2 separate regions of the Homo sapiens genome follow, and region 1 is linked to region 2. Evidence: promoter capture Hi-C in 16 types of primary human blood cells and fetal thymus (Javierre and others, 2016). All regions are on one chromosome and are shown on one strand. Each heading gives the region's core, a stretch centred on a gene start or on the middle of the fragment in contact. The rest is flanking DNA. Distances are from core to core; before and after follow the strand shown. Region 1 overlaps RBM6 (RNA binding motif protein 6). Region 2 holds the start of MON1A (MON1 vesicular trafficking associated A).

Evidence for each region. The method cuts DNA at HindIII sites, captures the fragments that hold promoters and counts their contacts. A CHiCAGO score of 5 or more calls a contact.
Region 1: a contact is called between a fragment that was not itself captured here and the fragment with the promoter of MON1A in region 2, in 1 of 17 cell types (endothelial precursors). The highest score is 8.3, in endothelial precursors.

Annotation. Positions count from the first base shown.
Region 1 is chr3:50,044,242-50,048,421 of GRCh38, forward strand. It overlaps RBM6 (RNA binding motif protein 6), which reads left to right. Exons shown (of 21, transcript NM_005777.3): 7 at 4,004-4,078. Among named protein-coding and RNA genes, the nearest start is that of RBM5, 43 kb to the right of the region's middle. The HindIII fragment of the contact is 2,076 bases long and covers 1,370-3,445 here.
Region 2 is chr3:49,927,342-49,931,375 of GRCh38, forward strand. MON1A (MON1 vesicular trafficking associated A) reads right to left here and starts at 2,470. Exons shown (of 6, transcript NM_032355.4): 1 at 2,268-2,470. RefSeq lists a silencer at 2,177-2,526. The HindIII fragment of the contact is 4,855 bases long and covers 1-3,010 here.

The sequences.
Region 1 (4,180 bases), core at 1,158-3,657, 120 kb after region 2:
CTTGAGTAGCTTAATAACTCAATAAATCAAAAGATGAATAAATATTCTAATGTGTGAAGATACTCTAATAGATAATAGGCAATTAAGAATGGACATCCACGGCTGGGCGCTGGGGCTCATGCCTGTAATCCCAGCACTTTGGGAGGCTGAGGCGGGTGGATCATGAGGTCAGGAGGTAGAGCCCATCCTGGCCAACATGGTGAAACCCCATCTCTGCTAAAATACAAGCTACTCGAGAGGCCGAGGCAGGAGAATTGCTCGAACTTGGGAGGCGGAGGTTGCAGTGAGCCAAAATCGCATCACTGCACTCCAGCCTGGCGACAGAGCGAGACTCCGTCTCAAAAAAAAAAAAAAAGAATGGACATCTACTGAAGGTGATTGCATCATCCTACCCATTCATTAATCTAACTCCCTACAGGATACTTTCCTAGGAGACACTGACAGGTCTGTTTTCTGAAATCCAGAGAAAGGCAGCAATGGGGAGGGGTGCAGTGTATGTATGTCATACCTGTGCTTGGTATATCTGAGTTGCCTGTGTATGATAGCAGCTGGGGAATCAAATCATAGATAAATTGTTCTCATACAGGTTTGTCCTATGACTACCTATTCTTATTAAACAATTGGCTATATTGACCCTTTTTGGTTTTGGAAAAATAATAATAATTTTTTTAAGAGAGAAAAAGAAACAATTGGCTACCCTTCAACAGTGATGTTAAAACCATTTCACATTCTTTAGCAGTGGTCACTGTCCTATGTCTAACTATGTGCAGGTTGAGAAAAAGGACTGCCCGAGTTATAGATGATTCTGTGAGAATAAGAAATCATTGCTTTTGTAACACATGAGGTAAAAGTAATCTCAAAGTTGACATGCTGATGGGGACTCCTGGCAAGGGGAGTTCCCTGCCCTCAACAAAAGGTCATCCACAGCTACTGGAACATTTTTGTTGTCTGAGAAGTATAAAGTGCCTTAGAAATACCTGAATCCATTAATGCCTCCAGTTGGTGAAATCAGAATTTGCAGGTGACTGAAATTGACAGTAGTGCCTTGTTCTTACTCACTGTTCAAATGACAACCCACATGTTTTATGGATTGGGTATACAGATGTATGCTCTAACAGCAGTATCTCCCTCCAGAGCCACTGTGTACCAAGCACCAGGTCCTCCAGGGATAGTTGGCTCTATTCAGTCTTTGATTCATTCAACAAGAGCTTACTAAGCTCCTTTTTGGTACCAGATACTCTTTGTTGCTGAAAATAAATAAAAGGCCAGCAAGATTAAGTAGACTGTGAGATCTGGACCAGTAATTTGACAACACAAAGTACTGTCGTAAAGATACAGTTTCTGATGTGTAGTGACCATTCCGTATGAAAGCTTAGTCTTTCAGGAGATTAAAATGGGTGGTGGAATATTCCTACCTAGCAAGCAAGCAAGGTGAAATGAGTGGCTGTTTGACTCCCACCTGCTGATGCTGGTCTTTTTTGGTTCCTAGGGCTTATAATGATCAACATTTCTTGAGCCCTCACTATATTCTATGCTAAGCTCTTTACATGTATGAATTTACTTAATCTTCACAACCACCCTAAGAAATAGGTACTGTTGTCCTTACTTTACAGATGAGGAAATGGAAGCACAAAGAAGTTAAGGACCTTGCTGAAGGTCATGGAGTAGAGGCAGGATTCAAATTTAGGGAACTCAGCCTACAGTCCATGCTCTTAAAGATGTTATATCCTGTCTCTGGGCTTAGAAGGGGTTCATCTTAGGCCGGACACAGTGGCTCACGTCTGTAATCCCAGCACTTTGGGAGGCCAAAGCGGGCAGATCACGAGGTCAGGAGTTCGAGACCAGCCTGACCAACATAGTGAAACCCCATCTCTACTAAAAATACAAAAATTAGCCAGGCATGGTGGTGTGCGCCTGTAGTCCCAGCTACTCGGGAGGCTGAGGCAGGAGAATTGCTTGAACCTGGGAGGCGGAGGTTGTGGTGAGCCGAGATCGTGCCACTGTACTTGAGAGTGAGTGACAGAGCAAGACTCTGTCTCAAAAAAAAAAAAAAGACGGCCAGGCGCAGTGGCTTACGCCTGTAATCCCAGCACTTTGGGAGGCCGAGGTGGGCGGATTACCTAAGGTTGGGAATTCGAGACCAGCCTGACCAACGTGGAGAAACCCCGTCTCTACTAAAAATACAAAATTAGCCAAGCGTGGTGGCATATATCTATAATCCCAGCTACTCGGGAGGCTGAGGCAGGAGACTCGCTTGAACCTGGGAGGCGGAGGTTGCAGTGAGCCGAGATCACGCCATAGCACTCCAGCCTGGGCAACAAGAGCGAAACTCTGTCTCAGGGAAAAAAAAAAAAAAAAAAGGAGGGGGCGCTTCATCTTGACTAACTTCCTGCATTGGTGGAGCTTGATAGAGTGGTCCTTCCCAGATCCTTCCCTGCATACAGAGCCTGTCTCTTTTCTGATTGGTCCCTAAGGCCAGATTACCTGTCCCTAATACTGAGCAGAAGCTGGTGAATGAAACAGGAGATCCCTCAGTCAAAACAAAAGGAAAAAGAAAAATGAAACAGGAGATCCCTTCTCTACAGCCCAGATGTAAGTCCAGCTGTGCCCTTCACCACCTGGGTGACCCCACCTCTGTGAACATAGGTCCTCATCTGTAAAGTGTAGATAATGTTATTTCATCGGATCATTTAGGGGATTAAATAAGATAATGTACTTCGTGGTTTCTGGCTCTTAGTAAGTGCTTAATAAATGTTAGCGATTTTTATTATCATTGTCCTTAGCCTTGAGAACAAGCCAGGGAATAGTGTCTCAGACCAGATGCTAAGACCTAGGTAGATGGGCAATTTTCCTTGGTTTTGACAAGACAATAATTTTATCCTGTGTATTTCTCTTGACTTTTTTGATGTGAAAAGCAGAGAGGTAAAGCATTATTTGACAGATGTATGGATTCAAGCAAGAAACTGAGGTCCAATTGCAAAGAAATGGCTTGTATAACTCAGAGCCCTGTCTGAGGAAACACAGAGGACCCTAGAGGGCGGAGAATGAACACAGCGCAGGGGCTAGTTCCAGAGTCGCATTCTCGGTTAGTTCACTTTCAAGTGTGGGTGAGGGTCCCTTGTCAGTAGGCAGAGAATTTTTTTCCCCTGCACCAACACATACCTGCTGCCTAGTGTTTATTAAACAAAACTTTATTTTAATGTGAAATAGAATTCATGACTTGTCCAAAATGGAGAGGCAAGGGAGCTCTTTAACAGGCTTGTTGAGCCCCTTTTCCCACCTGTTCCTGTGCCAGACTTTCCCAAAGGCTTACTTGCCAATGGTTGCTCCTCAGATCTCAGGGCTAGCTCACTCTATAGGCTCCAAGCCAGAGTGATACCGCCGCCGCCGCTGTTGCTCCCACCAGCCAATCAGTTTCCTGCTGTAAGGATGTAACTTGCTGTGAAGCTTTCACCTTCCTCCTTTCTTCCTGTCTTCAATGTTGTATGTCTTTGTCCTGGTGCTTTTGCCATACAGCCAGTGTTTCAAAGAAAATTTTCAGGCACTAAAGTTATAGCCCTTACTACCTTTCCAAGGAGATGTGAGATAGCTGTGGAAAAGAAGAGGGCTCCTCTGCCTCTGTGCAGAAGGAACAGTTTACTTCTTGATAGTGTGCTAGCTCCTGAGCTAGGTGGGGGACTTGCTGGGATTCAAGAGAGTGCATTACCTGACCTCTGGACAAGTAGACTGGGCATAGCCTGCCCAAGGACAGCACCCTAACCTGCAGGAACCAAGGCCGAAGACTGATTTCACCTTCTCGTACTCCCCTTTCCTAAGCTAAAGCTTGCTCTGTAACACTGCCCCAGGTCTGTGGCTTAAAACAGCCATTTCCTTTCACCAGTGAATTAAGCTCACTCTTTATAAAATGTTTCAGCTTGGGGATTGGAAAGGCTCTCTGTGCCTTTCTGTCTCTGTCTGTTTCTCCAAGGGTTGATGTTGATGGCTTCTGTCTTTGTCTTTACAGGGAACTCTAATGATCCAGGACAAAGAAGTTACCCTGGAGTATGTATCAAGCCTGGATTTTTGGTACTGCAAACGAGTAAGTACCAAGAATCCCTTTCTTTAGAAGTAAGTATCTGGAATAACAGCTCCTCCATATCTCTAGGAAGGCTGCCTGCTAACATGCATTCCCAAGGACAAA
Region 2 (4,034 bases), core at 1,220-3,719:
GATTAAATGAAATAATCCATGTAATTTGATTACATACTCAGTTGCTCCCATTAGCACATCCTGATTATTCTTACTTAGCATTCAGTCCATGTGTGACTGCACTTATAATACCACATGAATCCAGTGGTCTGTGCCATGTAAATCGGGCCTCTGAGATTTTGCTCAGCCTACAGTGGCATATGGGCAAATACGCTTCTGACCTTGCAAAGCCAGGTGGGCCCTAGCCTGAAGCGACTCACCTTCAGGCTAGGGCTATCATATAGACAGTTGGGAGTCAGGTCAAAGAGCTGTCTTATAGACAGCTGGGAGTTCCTCCAGGCTAACTGGTTGTTCACTGGCTCTGGAGTTGCAGGAATAGACAACGGGCTCTCTGCTGCTCTTGGAAGTATCTCCTAAATTAAACTCCTTAATTAGCCAGGTATGGTGGCAGGCGCCTATAATCCCAGCTACTCAGGAGGCTGAGGCAGGAGAATCACTTGAACCCAGGGGGCAGAGGTTGCAGTGAGCTGATATCGCGCCATTGCACTCCAGCCTGGGCAAAAGATTGAAACTCTGTCTCAAAAAAAAAAACAACAAAAAAAAACAAAAAACTCCTTGGTCTGCCACATGCCACTGCTCTGTGACGTTGCACTTTTGGTTCAAAGACCCAAACAAGGTCTACAATAGCTTACTTATTCTGTCCTCAGGGCCCACTCTCCACTGATCCCTTGTGGGCTTTAGCTGACTAAGCCCAGTGTGGCTGAGTGGTACCCAGCACGGTACCTGCATGGGGAAGGGTTGGCGGGGGCCAGATCAGCTGGCCAGAGCTAGTGGATGCTTCCTTCACAATAGTTCTCCTGCCACCTGAGATCATACAGTATCTCAGCATCTCCTAGGTCAGTCTGGGGTCCAGCCAGAGGCCTGATGAAGCAAACAGCTCTCTGAATACTTACTCTGGAAACTCAGACAGGGAGGCTGAGTGAATCACAGCAAAATCCACCCCAACCCCCATTGGAGCCACAACTGTGCAACTGAAGCTCCTGGGAGGCTAGAATTGAAGAAGTTAGGCAAAGGAGGTCTCTTAGAACCAGCCCCAGATGCCCCTTCTCAGGGAACCCTTCTCAGACAACCCCTCTAGAAGCCCCAGGCCTTGCTTTTCCTAGAAGTGCCCTGCTATGCCTGTGAGCAATGTCACCAAACAAGTTGGCTCAATCAGCCCTTGTAGTGTGCCTCTCTCACTCAGGCAGCCTTGGAGCAGAGAAGGCCTTCAGAAGCCCCTCCCTACTGACTCCCTACCACTCCTGCTCCCTCTTCTTGCTTGGATAGCACTTCATTTCACCTTAACCCTTTGGAGCGGCCTGTCTGGAAAGGAGGTGCCAGGATACAGGATGTGTGGCAGACAAGGCCCAGGTGAGGCTGTGCTATGGCTGCTTCAGCAGGATGCCTACTCCATGCTGAGATCACAGTCTGGTCCTTGTCACTTCTGGCGGTTACTTCCCTCCCTGACAAAGGGTGCTCACTCTCCCTCTGCAAACTTGTGCCCAGAAAGGGTGGCTCACCCAGTACAAGGGACAACCCAGTTGCACCAGGCAAACTGGTGCAAAGTCCGGCCAGGCGCAGTGGCTCATGCCTGTAATCCCAGCACTTTGGGAAGCTGAGGCAGGCAGATCACCTGAGGTCAGGAGTTCAAGACGAGCCTGGCCAACATGGTGAAACCCCGTCTCTACTAAAAAAATACAAAAATACAAAAAATTAGCTGGGCGTGGTGGCGCATGCCTGTAATCCCAGCTACTCGGGAGGCTGAGGCAGGAGAATCGCTTGAACCTGGGAGGCGGAGGTTGCAGAGAGCTGAGATCACACCACTGCACTCCAGACTGGGCAACAAGAGTGAAACTCCGTCTAAAAACAACAAAGCAAAGACCCAAGCCCCTTCCAGGTGCTGCCCCGCTCATCCCAGTTACCTCTGTTGCTTTTTGAGAAGACTCTACCGGCCGAATATGTGTACGTTTGTTGGCGGGGCGGGGGTGGGGGAGTGGGGAGAGTCCTACCTGGCCACTGCCCCCTACCGGATCTCGCCCTCCCAGCCAAAGGATGGGTTCCAGATCTCGCCTTTTGTATTCCCCAGCTGGGGACTAGCCGGCTGAGGGACCGCAGGGAGACACAGTCTTCCCATTGCAAACGATAGCGTTGATGGCTGGAGGCCCCCGTCTTCAAGCCCCTCCCTCCAAAGATGACAGCTCTCCAGTCTCTAGGTGCCTCCAGGCCACGTGGGCTGGCAGTCAACTCACCTGTTTCTCAGAGGAGTCCAGGACGCACAGAAGGTGCCGGTCACTGCCCTCTGCCGGACCCATGGAGGGGTAAGGGTGTCCGGCCGGGGCCGGCCTGAGGGCACAGCTTCGCGGGGCCCCGGCCCCCTGCGTACACAGACATGGCCACAGCGCAGGCACCGCTCCCTCCCACCGCCCTCACCCGGCCGCCGGTGCAGGAAGATAGCTTTCGCCGGCCTCTCGCGGCCAAGGCCCAGCTCCAGCCGCTCAGCCCGACTCGGCCCGCCCCCGGGGTGCATTGTGGGAAATGTAGTCCTTAGCGTTTGGCCGCCTGCGGCGCCGAGGGACTGGTTCTGGGCTCCTAGTCCCAGCAGAGCCGTGGGCAGGTCCTGACCCGGGTCCGCGATTGCCTCATCCGGCGCCGCCTTCTAGGGGCCTGGGCGCCTCCTCCGAGTCTAGAGTCCCACACAGAACAGCCCTGGACTCTGGGCCTCTCCGTCCGAGCCAGCTAGCAGTTCATTTCAAGTGAGAGAAAGGGACGTTAGGATTGTTTCTCCCACTGATTGTGGAAGGACAGTGCAAGTTTGGGGGACTGGATAAATGTCATTAGTGGGCCCAGCCACACAGGCTGTAAAGGATGTGGGCATGCGCAAAAGTCGCACTAATTGTTTCTAAAAACATATTTGTAGCCACGTTTTAATGTATCAGTATAATGCTCTAGAACGGTAGTTCTCAACTCTGACGGCACATAGAATAAGCCGGGAAGCTTTAAAAAAAAAAAAAAAGAACTAGGACGGGCGAGGCGGCTCACGCCTGTAATCCCAACACTTGGGAGACCGAGGTGGGCGGATCACTTGAGGTCAGGAGTTCCAGACCAGCCTGGCCAACATGGTGAAACCCCATCTCTACTAAAAATACAAAAACTAGCCAGGCTTGATGGCGTGTGCCTGTAGTCCCAGATACTCGGGAGGCTGAAGTGGGATTCCAGGAGGTCGAGGTTGCTGTGAGCCATGATCATGCCCTGCACTCCAGCCTGAGCACCAGAGCGAGACCCTGTCTCAAAAACAACAACAAAAAAACTAATGCCTGGACACCAGCCCTAGAGATTTTGATTTAATTGAATTTAGAGTAGGGTGGAGTGTTGGGGAGCCAGGCATCACTATTGTTTTAAAAGCTCCCCAGGTGATTTACCATTGCAAAGAATCATTGTTTGTAATTTCCTAGACGCAAAGCAATAAAAACAACAGGAAAACAGTCAACAACAGGCTCTCCCAAAAGACCCTTATTTTTAGAGATGGTTTTAAAAAGTAAAATTAGTGTTTGGCACCACTGCTCATGTTCTTTTCTGAAGCAATTAATTCACTTTACAGCCTTATGGTTAATTCTCCCAAAAGTTAATAGGATGAAAAAAAAAGTCAGATCACTCCTCTGACTTTCCCTGCTGCTCCACAAGCACCTGGGGGCAGTGTCCTTTTCCTCTCTAAGCCCTACACTGGAGTTAGGGTAGAGCTCCGCCCCTGGGCTTTTCTTCCAGTCTCAGATGGCTGCCACTTGTAGCCTGCTTCCACAACACTGGCCTGTGACTGACATGGTGACAAAGCTGTGGCCTTTCACTGAAGATGGCTTTGCATAAGGCTATCAAGTTCTTGCACATAGTCTAAGGGAAGCTTTCTCACCCCCATGTCCCCCACTTTTAGGTAAGGACATAAGAAAATGCCCTATTCCTTAACTGAGAGTCTCTCCAGGTCTCCACAGATCACTCAGTATTTTATCTCCTCATTAGCTCAG